3 separate regions of the Homo sapiens genome follow, and all the other regions are linked to region 2. Evidence: promoter capture Hi-C in human tissues and cell types (Jung and others, 2019). All regions are on one chromosome and are shown on one strand. The core of a region is centred on a gene start or on the middle of the fragment in contact, and the rest is flanking DNA. Distances in the headings are between cores, read along the strand shown. Region 1 overlaps SLIT3 (slit guidance ligand 3). Region 2 holds the start of SLIT3 (slit guidance ligand 3). Region 3 holds the start of LOC105377713 (a long non-coding RNA gene).

What was found. Contacts are between HindIII fragments. The study calls those that stand out against the background at their distance.
Region 1: a contact is called between a fragment that was not itself captured here and the fragment with the promoter of SLIT3 in region 2, in 3 of the 25 tissues and cell types used here (adrenal gland, dorsolateral prefrontal cortex and neural progenitor cells).
Region 3: a contact is called between a fragment that was not itself captured here and the fragment with the promoter of SLIT3 in region 2, in 2 of the 25 tissues and cell types used here (heart left ventricle and thymus).

What each region holds. Positions count from the first base shown.
Region 1 is chr5:169,031,789-169,036,114 of GRCh38, reverse strand. The region is part of intron 4 of SLIT3 (slit guidance ligand 3); the gene reads left to right. The region is part of intron 3 of SLIT3-AS1 (SLIT3 antisense RNA 1); the gene reads right to left. Among named protein-coding and RNA genes, the nearest start is that of SLIT3-AS1, 21 kb to the right of the region's middle. The HindIII fragment of the contact is 5,303 bases long and covers 1-4,220 here.
Region 2 is chr5:169,299,853-169,303,882 of GRCh38, reverse strand. It overlaps SLIT3 (slit guidance ligand 3), which reads left to right and starts at 2,744. Exons shown (of 36, transcript NM_003062.4): 1 at 2,744-3,370. The coding sequence starts at 3,174. The HindIII fragment of the contact is 12,348 bases long and covers 1-4,030 here.
Region 3 is chr5:168,884,066-168,888,121 of GRCh38, reverse strand. The region is part of intron 4 of SLIT3 (slit guidance ligand 3); the gene reads left to right. It overlaps LOC105377713 (a long non-coding RNA gene), which reads right to left and starts at 1,550. Exons shown (of 4, transcript XR_941197.3): 1 at 1,417-1,550. The HindIII fragment of the contact is 4,078 bases long and covers 537-4,056 here.

The DNA of each region.
Region 1 (4,326 bases), core at 320-2,819, 270 kb after region 2:
TTTATTTTTGCAACTCAAATGAGAAAAAACATATTTGAAAGAAGTTAGGGCACTTTCACAGGACCACACATGGAGTTGGTTATATGACCTGGGAAATAGGACAGTCTTTATAAGTCTTCATTTTCACATCAATAAAATGTGCTCGTCTGTAAAATTAGGGATGGGGAAAGAAGTCTAATAAAAAGGCTCAGAGAAAGGAGATGCTGGAGTTGATGTAACAGGATTCAAGACTCTACGATATTAACTGTTTCAAGTAGAAAACCATCAAGAAAGGATAGAAATTTAGGATTGCTTTCAAGGAGCCTCTCATTCCAGATTTACTACTTAGTACTGTGTGACCTTGGGCAAGTGACTGTACCTCTCTGGGCCTCAGATGCCTCATCTTGGAAATAGATTATCGTGGTACTCACTTTGTAGTCTTGTTGTGAAGAGTAAATGAGGTAATTCTTTTTTTTTTTTTTTTTTTTCCAGATGCAGTCTCACTGTCACCCAGGCTGGAGTGCAGTGGTGCGATCTTGGCTCACTGCAAGCTCCACCTCCTGGGTTCATGCCATTCTCCTGCCTCAGCCTCCCGAGCAGCTGGGACTACAGGTGCCCGCCACCACGCCTGGCTAATTTTTTGTGTTTTTAGTAGAGACGTGGTTTCACCGTGTGAGCCAGGATGGTCTCGATCTCCTGACCTCATGATCCACCTGCCTCGGCCTCCCAAAGTTTTGGGATTACAGGCGTGAGCCACTGTGCCTGGCCTAAATGAAGTAATTCTTATAAAGCACTTGGAAGAATACTGACATAAAGTTGGCCTTCAATGTTGCCATCAGTAGTAGCAGTATTACTCTTACTACTACTGTTAATATTATTGATCAAGATGACCCTCTCCTCTGGATAACATAACAGTGATTGTCTCCACTATGGCCAGGTTCTTCTCTTACAGTCTATCCACAATATTTGTCTAATCCTAGAAGTTCTAGAAGGCATCCAAGAATCTAAGTTAGTGGTTCTAAGTCTCAGTTCACATAAAAATTATCTTAAGGATGCTGGGCACTAGTGGCTCACACCTGTAATCCCAGCACTTTGGGAGGCCAAGGTGGGCAGATCGCTTGAGCTCAGGAGTTCAAGACCAGCCTGGGCAACATGACAAAACCCCGTCTCTACCAAAACACACACACACACACACACACACACACACACACACACACACACACTAGCTGGGCGTGGTGGCTTGTACCTGCAGTCCCAGCTACTTAAGGGGCTGAGGTGGGAGGATCTCCTGAGCATGGAGAGGTCAAGGCTGCAGTAAGCAGTGATTGCAAGCCACTGCACTCCAGTCTGGGTGACAGAGCAAGACTCTGTCTCAAAAAAAAAAAAAAATCATAGGAAATGTTTAAAAATCCTGAGGCTTGGGTCCCATGAACTGAGATTTTTATTTATTTGATCTAGCGTCTAGCTGGGCCTTATGACTTTTAGAAACACTCCAGGTGATTCCAAGGCACCACTTGGCCAGTGGAAGGCCATGTTAATTTTATATTGAAAAAGACCTAGAATATAAATGGTTTACTAGTCAACTAATTTTCCACAAGGGCACCAAGAGGACACAATGGGAAAAGGATAGTCTGTTCAATAAATGGTGCTGAGAAAACTGAATTTCCACATGTAAAAGAACGAAATTGGACCCTTAACTTATACCACTCACAAAAAATAGACTCAAAATGGATAAAAGACCTACATGTAAGATCTGAAACCATAAAACTCCTAGAAGAGAACACGGGGAAAAAGCTCCTGGACAATTGATTGGCCTTGACAGGTTTTTTTTGGATATTGCACCAAAGGCTCAGGACACAAAAGCAAAAGCAAATAAATGAGAGCACATCAAACTAAAAAGTGTCTGCATAGCAAAGGAAATAATCAACAAAATGAAACAGCTTATGGGTTGGGAAAAAAATATTTACAAGCCATATATATGGTAAAGGGTTAATATCCCAAATTCATAAAGAACTCATACAAAAGGCTGGGTGTGGTGGCTCACGCCTGTAATCCCAGCACTTTGGGAGGCTGAGGCAGGTGGATCACAAGGTCAAGAGATCAAGACCATCCTGGCCAACATGGTGAAAACCCGTCTCTACTAAAAATACAAAAAATTAGCCGGGCGTGGTGGTGGACACCTGTAGTCCCAGCTACTCGGGAGGCTGAGGCAGGAGAATCACTTGAACCCGGGAGGTGGAGGTTGCAGTGAGCCGAGATTGTGCCACTGCACTCCAGCCTGGTGACAGAGTGAGACTCCATCTCAAAAAAAAAAAAAAAAAAAAATCATACAATAGTGGAAAAACCACATAACCCAATTTAAAAATGGGCAAAAGACCTGAATAGGCATTTCTACAGAGAATATGCAAAAATGGCCCACAGGTATATGAAAAGGTGCTCAACATCATTCATCATTAATTAATTATTAATCAAAACCAGATGAGATACCACCTTACACCCATTTGGATGGCAACTATCAAGTCACAAGATAACAAATGTTGGTGAGGGTATGAAGAAAAGAGAACCCTTGTACATTGTTGCTGGGAATGTAGATTGGTCCAGCTGTTATGTAAAATAGTATGGATATTCCTAAGGAAATTAAAAATAAAATTACCAGATGACCTAACAATCTCTCTTCTGGGCACATACCCAAAGGAAATGAAATCACCGCCTCATAAAGAGACCTGCATGCCTGTGTTCACTGCAGCGTTGTGACAGTGAACATAGGCAACAACCTAAGTGTCCGGTGACAGACAAATGAATACACTGTGGTATATGTCTAGATTGGAATATTATTCAGCCCTAAAAAAGATCTTGCCTTTGCCACAACATAGACGAGCCTGGAGTGCACTGTGTTAAGTGAAATAAACCAGACAAAGAAAGAAAAAGATTGCATTGTTTCAAGTATATGTGGAATCTAAAAACAAACAAACAAACAAAAACCCAACTGTACAGAAATAGAGAACAAAACAGTGATTACCAGGCAGGGGATAGCTAGGGAGGAGATGGGAGATGGAGGTCTGTATTAAGTAGGGAGGGTGGCCAGGTCTGGAGACCTAATGTACAACCGGAAGACTATGGGTAAGAAAACTGTGCTATATTTGGGATTCATGCTACAGGAGTAGATTTCAGCTGCTCTTGCCACCAAAAAAAAAAAAAAAAAAAAAAAAAAAATCAAGGAAAAATGGATACTTATGAGATGATGGCTATGTTAATTTGCTTCACTGTGGTATCTTTTTTACTATGTGTTTGTATCCCATATCATGTTGTTCCTTCAATATACACAATAAAATTCATTTTACAAAATGAGTAGAATAAGCTTTTGTTTCCCAAGCATAGTATTCATGAGTGTTATATGAGGTCCTGTTAGATAGTTTAGATTATATGTTAACAGTCCTCCAACTATTTTCATGTGAATTAGGACAAAAAAAAAAATAACTAGCAGATCGACTCCATGACTTCACATGTAGTATTCTTTACACTGAAAAAAAAAAAAACGAAACTAAAACATGGAGGGGAATCTATATAAGTTCAACTTAAGTAAAACATCAAGTTACTATTTACACATATATGGTAAAAAAAAAAAATGACTGGCACATAAGTGAGTAAGGCTTAGAAGACATGGTATGAACTAAATATGACTATTTTTATAATTCTGAGCAAATGTGATTGTTCTAAAGATTAAAGTGATTTTTATTCATCAATTGTAAAGTTTCTAGCATAAAAAAGGTAGATTTATGAAATACAAATCCAAACTTCTAACCTAAGGACACAAAAGTCTTGGTTTCCAGTAACTTATTTTCAGGACACAGAGATAAAAAAAATGTTCTTTCATATTTACTCAGAGCTGTAATTATAATTACTTTGTATATATGGACATGGTTAATGATAATGACATCCTGTATTTTCATAGTACCTTCCCATTTACAGTCGACTTTCACTGACATGAATTAGGCATCCTAATAACCCGCTGAGTTTGGATTATTAGCCCCTTGTCACAAATGGGGAAAATGAGGGCCAGAGGGGTTGGTTATGTGGCCTGTCCTACGTTACACATCCAGGACATGGAGGTGCAGGATTGGAACCACATCACCTAATCCAAAGTAGTGCTTTTTATTTTCTACCATGCTTACTCTTCTAAGTCTTGTCCATGCTGTCTGCTCTCTCTTCCACATTCAATTAAAAAATCCCTCAAGGGCACCTCTAACTGTGTAACAAAGGAAAACCACCTAATCATCTCCTCCCAGCTCTTTTGTTTATGCTTTTGACCAACTCCAATTTGTTCTCCAGACAATAGCCGAAGTCATC
Region 2 (4,030 bases), core at 1,495-3,994:
TTTGAAAAGCCTATGGAAAAGTAAAGGGGAAAATTCAAAAGTGTCCAGGGACTTTTACGCAACTCTAAAAATGACACCACAGAGTGTAAAGCCACCTCTGGCCCTTGGACATAGAAAGTTCTAAACAATAGCCTGACCTCCTAGTGATTTACCCAGTCTTCTCCAAGGAGGGTAATTGCTCCATGGGGTGGCTACCGCCTTCTGCAGATGCCCCAGAATCAGCTGAGGAAGTGGACAGAGCCACATGTTCAGCATTGGAAGCCCGGAGTCCTGGCTCTGGTTATTTCACTAATTAGCTAGGTGACCCTACATAAATGCCCGCCTTTCTCTGAAACTCAGCTTCCTTGTTCGTAAAATACAAGAGTTGAACTATATTTGGGTTCTCAAAGTATGTTCCAAGAGAATTTGCAGTTTACATGAAAAGTGGTCCTCTATACTGAGAAACTGGGTTAAATAAGCCTTAAACAGGTTTCCTTACTGCAGGACTTCTCAGGAACTTAAAAACACTCATCTGTGATGCAATTCTCCAAGAGGGGTGAAGGTGAGTAGCATTTCTCAATCTGTCTTTGCCCAAGGAGACTTTTTTCTCCTCCATGATGAAACATGTGGAATCAGTAGTCATCAGAAGGCACTTGTAGAAATGTTGGATTAGGTGATTTCTAAGGCTGTACCAGCCCAAACACTCCATGATTCTGTGTATCCTGGTGTTCTGGGCCCCTCCTGTATTTCCCACTTGCCTCCTCCTTGGGGATGATTGACTCTGAAGGAAATCCTCACCATCTGTTCTAAGGGGCTTCTCCCAGGAAAAGTCACACTTGAATGCCTATAAAGTCCCTTAAAGATACAGTCTGGCTCATGAAACCCCCCTGAGCAGCTTAAATGGAAAACGCAGTCCCCCACTGCGCTCAGAGCACAGATCCAGGACCAGCCCGAAGGGATTGCAAAACATGCTCTAGCATGCATTTGGGAAAACAAAGAAAACCGTACTGTTTTCTGCTCCAGACAGTCTGAGACGCTTTGTGCCCTTGGGCCCTTGCCCGGTTCTCTCATCTGCCTCAGTCCTGGTACTAAATTGGTTCAAGGTTTGGAGGAAAGCTTCAGAGCAAAGGGATAAAAGGATGTTTAGAGTTCTTAAATACCGAAGTCACCCTGAAGACCGGAGCATAGACCCTCGCCAGCCACCAGGGGGCGATAACAACAGCATCTGTACAGAAAGCCGTTCCCAAGAATAACAGCAGTAAATTGCACCTAATGTGTTTATGAATGATGAAGGGACTCGAGTGTGTGTGTTTGAGTGAGTGTGCGTATGTGTGTGTTTGTGTGTACGCGCGCGCAAGTGGGTGCCCAAAGCTAAGACTTTGAAAATCTGCTAAGTATAATACAATAAAATCTACAACTCTACTATATATTCACAGGATGTGGTCAAGTAGTTGAAAGTTTCCTTGAAGGAAAATGAGGTAGAAGAAATCAGAATAGTATTCTTATGAAAGAAAAGAGAAGCGCTCTCAGGAGTATAGTTGTCACTATGTGAGTGTGTGTGCGAGCATGCATGTACACGTGTGTGTGATTGCCGGTGTATAAATGGGTGTGTGTGAGCCTGAGTATGTGAGAGTGTGTGCGTGGCTGTGAATACGTAGGCACCAGTGTGTGTGTATATATATGCAGGGCTCATTCAGGCCTTCTCAGTGTGAGGGGACCTCAAGGAAATCTGGGCAATACTTCCTCCAGTTCCTGCCCTTTCCTTTCAAACAAACAAACAAAATCATTCCTACAAGTATTTATGGAGCCTCTAACGCACACGCCCCTCCCCACTGGCATCTGGAAAAGCTCAGACCTAGCCAATTTAAAGCGGGCGCTGGAAGAAAGAAGGCGCTGGGGACAGAAGGGATGCCTCGTCTGCGAATGACTTTTGCAAAAACACGTTCTCTTCTGTGATGCTCCAAACAACCCAGGGAGGTGAGGCCAGGTAGGACTGTGGCCCCGGATTTGAGAAAACGAAGGCTCAGAGATGACACGATTGGCCCAGAGTCACCCAGTCAGGAAGCAGAAACCCGAGGATGGAACAAGGCATTGTCAATCCAGGGGTCCAAGTCGCTGCCATCACTACTTTTACCAGTCCACCAAGCGCTGGGTCTGGGCAAAGCAGGGCAAGTTTCCGGGTAAGGTTTGCCAGCAGTGACCTCAACAACATGGACCACGGTGTGTGTGTGTGTGTAGCTGTGGAGTACATTGGTGTCAACCAAGGCTCTTCAGGCAAAATTGTGGATCTCTGCCATGAGTACTAGGTGCGGTAGGGAAGCGGCTTCGTGGGCGACACTGCCATGGTTTGGCGTCCCTAGCAGCTGTGCGACCTCCAGCAAGTCGCTTCACTTCTCTGAGCTGTTTTCAGACGACCCCTTGGAAGATCGTGGACTTAAGTAAAGAATATGAGTAGAGTGCTCAGCTCAGTGCAAAAATTAAAAAAAAAAAAGTGTCAGGAGCCTTATCCGTCCTTGGATCTTAACAGTGAATGAGTTTCAGTGTTTCTTTCCAGGGGCCCTGCTGGCCGAGCCCCTTTCCTTCCCTGGTTCCTTCTCTCTCCCTCCTCTACTGCCTCCTCCCTCCAGGCTCTCGGTCGCTCCAGCAAAGTTCCCAACTTAGTCGACATGACGCGCGGCGCAGCCAATGGGAGGCGGAGTTGGCGTTTCTTGGTCGGGGGGGGGCCGGAGGGGTGGGCCCCGCGTCTCCGGTGTCTGCCGTGCTCACTGAATGGAGAGAGCGAGCGCCGGCCAGCTCACCCGGCCGCCCCGTGCCCCAGCCGCAGCCGCCGCGCTCCCCAGCCCAGCCCCAAGCCGGACCTCCCCGGGCGCCACGCCCCATTGCGCTCGCCCCAGGTCCCCAACCCGGCCCGCGGGCCAGCGGGGCCAGGGGGCGCTCCGCACCTGGGCACTCCCAGCGATGCGCAGCGGGGCAGCGCCGGCCCCGCCGATGGAGCTGCTGTTGCTGCCGCCGCCGCCGCCCGGAGCGCCCCGCTCCGCCCGCGCCCCGTGCGCCTGAGCACCGAGCTCGCCCCTCCTCCGCGCTAACTCCGCCGCCCGCTCCCCAGGCCGCCCGCGCTCCCCGCGCGCCTCCTCGGGCTCCACGCGTCTTGCCCCGCAGAGGCAGCCTCCTCCAGGAGCGGGGCCCTGCACACCATGGCCCCCGGGTGGGCAGGGGTCGGCGCCGCCGTGCGCGCCCGCCTGGCGCTGGCCTTGGCGCTGGCGAGCGTCCTGAGTGGGCCTCCAGCCGTCGCCTGCCCCACCAAGTGTACCTGCTCCGCTGCCAGCGTGGACTGCCACGGGCTGGGCCTCCGCGCGGTTCCTCGGGGCATCCCCCGCAACGCTGAGCGCCTGTGAGTACCCCTGCCCCACCCCACGCGGGCCACCCACCTGGGTCCCACCGAGGGGGCCCCAGGCGCCAGATCCGTCCTTTCCCCTCGGCCTCCCTGGATGCAGTCTCTATTCTCATCCCTTCCTGGATACGATCCCTCACTCTCCGAGCTGGGGGTCTGTAGGCTTGGTCAGATCTGGAAAGAGAGGTCTCGAAACCCCCAGCGATGGGCAAAGAGCAGTGCCTCTCCAGGGGTGAGGGTTCCAGACGCAGGGCCCGCTGACAGCTTCCAAGGAGTAGCTGAGGAGAGGCGAGGGGAGGCAAGAGCACTGCAGCCTCAAGGTCTTAGGGTGAGGGTCAGGGGTCTGCGCTCGTTAAAAAGGGGGGCGGGCGAAGGAGAAAGCTATAGGATGATGGGCCGTCAAGGCGCGGAGGCGGGAGAGAGGGCCCGAGACTGTTGACCTGCTTGGAGATCAGAATGGGCCAGCCGCTCTCTGGCTGCCCTTGCAAGGAAAGTTGAGAGTGTGGGTGAAGGTTTAACTTCTGAGGAACTGGACAGATTCAGAGTGGGTGCTCGCAAAACCCGCTCTGCCTGGAGCGCAGTCTGGGAGATGCCAAGTTGCAGCCCCGGGTGAATTTTTTATGGCTCGGTTATAAATGCCTCCCCGAACGAAGGGGCCGG
Region 3 (4,056 bases), core at 1,326-3,825, 420 kb after region 2:
CATTAATCACTTAACCCCCGTGTCCTTGGCTCGGTGTCTGTTTCTGAGAGAACCCAACATAAGACAGACCTCTTATTTCTGAATCCAGCTCTCTTGTTTTATCCAAAAGAATCTAGAATCAAACATGGCTACCCCTGTCTAGATGACAGAGGAGAGAAACTTTTTAATCCCTCCCTCAGATTTTATGGAAAGAGTACAGCAACATTTACGTATTTTATTCTTTGTAGAGTTGAAGGCATATGTCCTGGGGGTGCTGAAAAAGGACATTTTCAGCAATGTCAATCCAGTGCTAAATGGGAGGAAATTACAAAAAGGAAATGCAGCTATTCATTGAGTGCCTACGGTGTTCTAGGTGCTGTGCAGAGTGCTCTGCAGAGCACTACAAGCTGTAGTCTAATAAGTCATAATGGCACCTGTATAGACTTCCAGGTGGGACTGTGATGTTTCTGGGCGCACTATCCGTATGACTTAGGAAAGCAGTCCCATTTGACAGTTGGAGATGTGAGACAGAGTCATGCAGTTGACCAGATTCACACAACTAATGTGCAAATGATTCCACACGGTGCTCTACGTGTAATCATTTCGCTCTCACAACTAACTGATGAGGTTAGTAAAACTAACAACCCCACTGTAAAGATGGGGAAACTGAGGCAAAGAGCATTTTAGTAACTTGAATGATCATACAGCTCATAATTAGCCCCACCCACTTCAGAAACAAGAAATCTCCAAGTTTTGAGGAACTTCCAAACCCCATTTTGTAGCTTCGGAATTAATTTGGGAGTGACCTCTAGGATCAAATTCCCTCCACCAACTGCCATTTAACACAGACAGGATTTCCTGGTAGCATGAATGTGACCAAGACAAGTGCATTGTCCCCAGCAGGGCAAAGAGGAGAACATGTTCCTCCTCCTAGTCTTGCAGGGGTAGGGGTGAAGGTGGGAACTGTCATTCTCTGCTCCTCCAAGAACAAAGCATGCCTGACATTGCAGGGAGAGCCCCAGGAAGCATTTCAAAAGCTCCACTGGAACTAGACAGCCTTTCAATCCATTTATCAAAGTGTCTGCAGTTCCCATTTCAAGGGTAGATGAAGCAATAATAAATTTGCGAAGAAAGTTAATCTGTGTCCAAAGCATTTTAGTAAATTAAAAAGGTGGGGAGGGTGGCTGGAAGGGGGATATATTGGTTCTTGCCAACTCCTATTTGACTTACTGTCTCCTTAATAAGTCCTCTTTGGTCTTGTGTTTTTGGATGGAATAATCAGTTGGTTAATCATTTTCCGGAAGCTGGAAAATGCACTTTAGCTAATGCAGTTCTCCTTTTCTCTCAGAGCCCTAATTATTTAAAAAGGCATCCCAATTCCTAGCCCTACTCCCCAACCAAGAAAGCCTTTCCCACCAGCCATCTTCCTTTACTTACCCAGAAAAATACTGCACACCTCCCACTCCTGCACCCTACTCCAATCTCATGCCTTTCTTCTAGTGTTTAGAAAAACAAAAATCCCCTTCTCAGGTCACTTCTGAGCATGTCTGCCCTCCTCAGCCCTGAGCTGCTTCCCTCGTGAAAGGGGAGACACTAAAACCCCAACAGGAAATTGGCCAGCGCTAGGCTCTTGGGCATCGTGGATAGATTTTGTTATTTTTATTTAAGTGTCAGTGGAAAATGGTGGCTCTTGTCTCTCTCGAGGATAGTACTTAATGATAGCTCCATGCTCTGGCACCACGTAGAGATAAACACACTATTAGGAACTCTCACAAAGGCCCTGCGATAATTGTGAAGGGACTGTTACCGAAAATGAAGCGCCCAGCCCTGAACCCTCCTCCACGCCCCATCAGTAACACCATTGAAGCTGTCAGTTTGTCAGCCCACTGGAGGTATTTATGAAATCAATATACAGTCCTGCAGATGGATGGCAGCAGTATTGTTAGCCGGAGAAGGGAAGCTCAATGGAAAATAAAATTAATAAAATTTACAAGCAGATTGTCATGGGGATCAGATAAATTCCCTACAATCTACTGTTTTGCTCAATTGGGACAGGAGGAAAGCAGTGACAGGGAGATGGGAAGAAAGCTGTGTTTCAACTGGCTCCGTAAAGTAGGAGCAAGGCTGGTTATATTTACAGCAAGAAAATAGTGAACAGAAACCAAAGCGCTGCCCCACCCAAGTGCAGGATTTTGCCTGTGTGGGAGGTCTCCCAGCAACATGGCCAGATTTTTCTGCTTAAATATCGCTCTCCTCTCCTCATCCCACCGTATTGCAAATCAGAACCTTTGTACGACTGCTACTCCTCCCAGTGTATTATGGGATGTTGTCTACTCAAACAAGGTTAGTGCATTACTGGAACACATGCCCCCTCATCCAGCTTCCAGCTATGGTTCAAGCTGACAGCTCTAAACCTCTCTCCTGTTTGCTCCCCCTGCCTCTGATTTTGATCATCAACCATTTTCCAAAAGTGTGACTGGGGCTCATCTTCCAGAGCCGCCAGAGAGAGCAGCCAATCCTGGGAGGGTAGTGGGCAAAGGCTCGGTGGCCTACAGACCAGCTTCATTTGGCAGAAAAGACTGGACTCATTGTGACTGCCAGAGCCTCGGGTGCTGCCCAGATGCCTGGTGGAAATTGCATTAGTCAGATGACAGGACCTGGGCCCCTGCTCCGGAGGCTGATGGAGAGCAGCTGAGTGGCCTTGGTGACACCGCCTGACCTCTGCTGTCATCGTGGGCTTTGTTCAGCGCCCCGACTCCAGGCTGGAGCCCTGCTCATTGAATCAGGCCTGGCTGGGGGAGCCTGAGACAGCGCTCATTGTGCATCTGAATTTACTTACATCGGTTGCAGACAGAGGAAACTGGATTTGAGATAGGGAGCACCCTGTTACTCAGCCCCAGAAGCCACTAGTACTCACACCGGCACTCTACCCCAAGTCAGCCTTGTTTTGTGGGCCTAAAAGTAGCCCCAGATGATCGTCAAGTTTCGTTTTAGCTAGCTGCTCAGAGCACATGGCTTGTCCCAGCAGCAGATGGGAGATCAGAAAAAAGTGGACACCTCTTTTCTGCTTCCTCTTTTCCCTCCTGCCCCTTTGCAAAATGTTCATTTAGACTGCCCAGATTTTAGTGGAGGGCAGTCGTCTGATGTCTCCTGCCAAATATAACTGGAGTCATCTAAAGCTTTTGATTAGGTGCCCTTGGAAAATCAGCATGGAGTGTCCACAGGTACAATCTGTCCGTAGGTCAACTCAGGACCCATTTAACCTGTGACCAGCAAGTTCTCCTTCTAGGACCCCGTACCAAGGAGATAGTTAGACAAGTGTCCCCAAAATGTGCATGCACAGAAGTTCACCCTAGTGTTTTCATTAAATAGCAAATAAATAAATGCCTACCCAACAATTTGGGACCCATATAGCCACTCATACAATTGGACGATATACAACCATTAAAAATGTTGATATCAATGCACTATTAATGACAGGGACAGATGTTCTCAATATAGCAAGCAAAAATAATAGGTTATAATAGACTGTATATTGTGAGGTCATATTGGTGGAATTTCATATATATATATATATATATATATATATATATCTCGTAATTGGTAGCAGTAGTTAGATCTGCAACGTTTTTTTTTTACCTTAATATTTGAGGGTTTTTCGGGTGTTCTTTTAAAAAATAATGTGTATGTATAGCACTGTGTGTGTGTGTGTGTGAGAGAGAGAGAGAGAGACACCTTTTATATCTGAAGAAAGTGTAAAGAGCTCATTGTGTCCCTAGCCCCCGGCTCTGCACCCCCCGACCACGCCATAGTCCTCAGAGAGGCTTCTGCAGCCTGTGGCTGTGCGGGAACAGCCTGGAAGGAGGCCTGGCATGAGTGTTTTGCAGGGCCAGTTTGCACGCTCTGGAGGCCTGATGGGTCGGTCTTTACAGATTGATTACTCGTTGAGATCCAAGCAGGCCTGCGTTCTTAGTGAAAACAAGTGCACATGTTTGGTCTAGCAAAAACTAAATGTGGGAAACAAACCAAAAAAAAAAAACAGCCCATATCTTTCTTAGAAAGGAAGTAAGGCTTTGG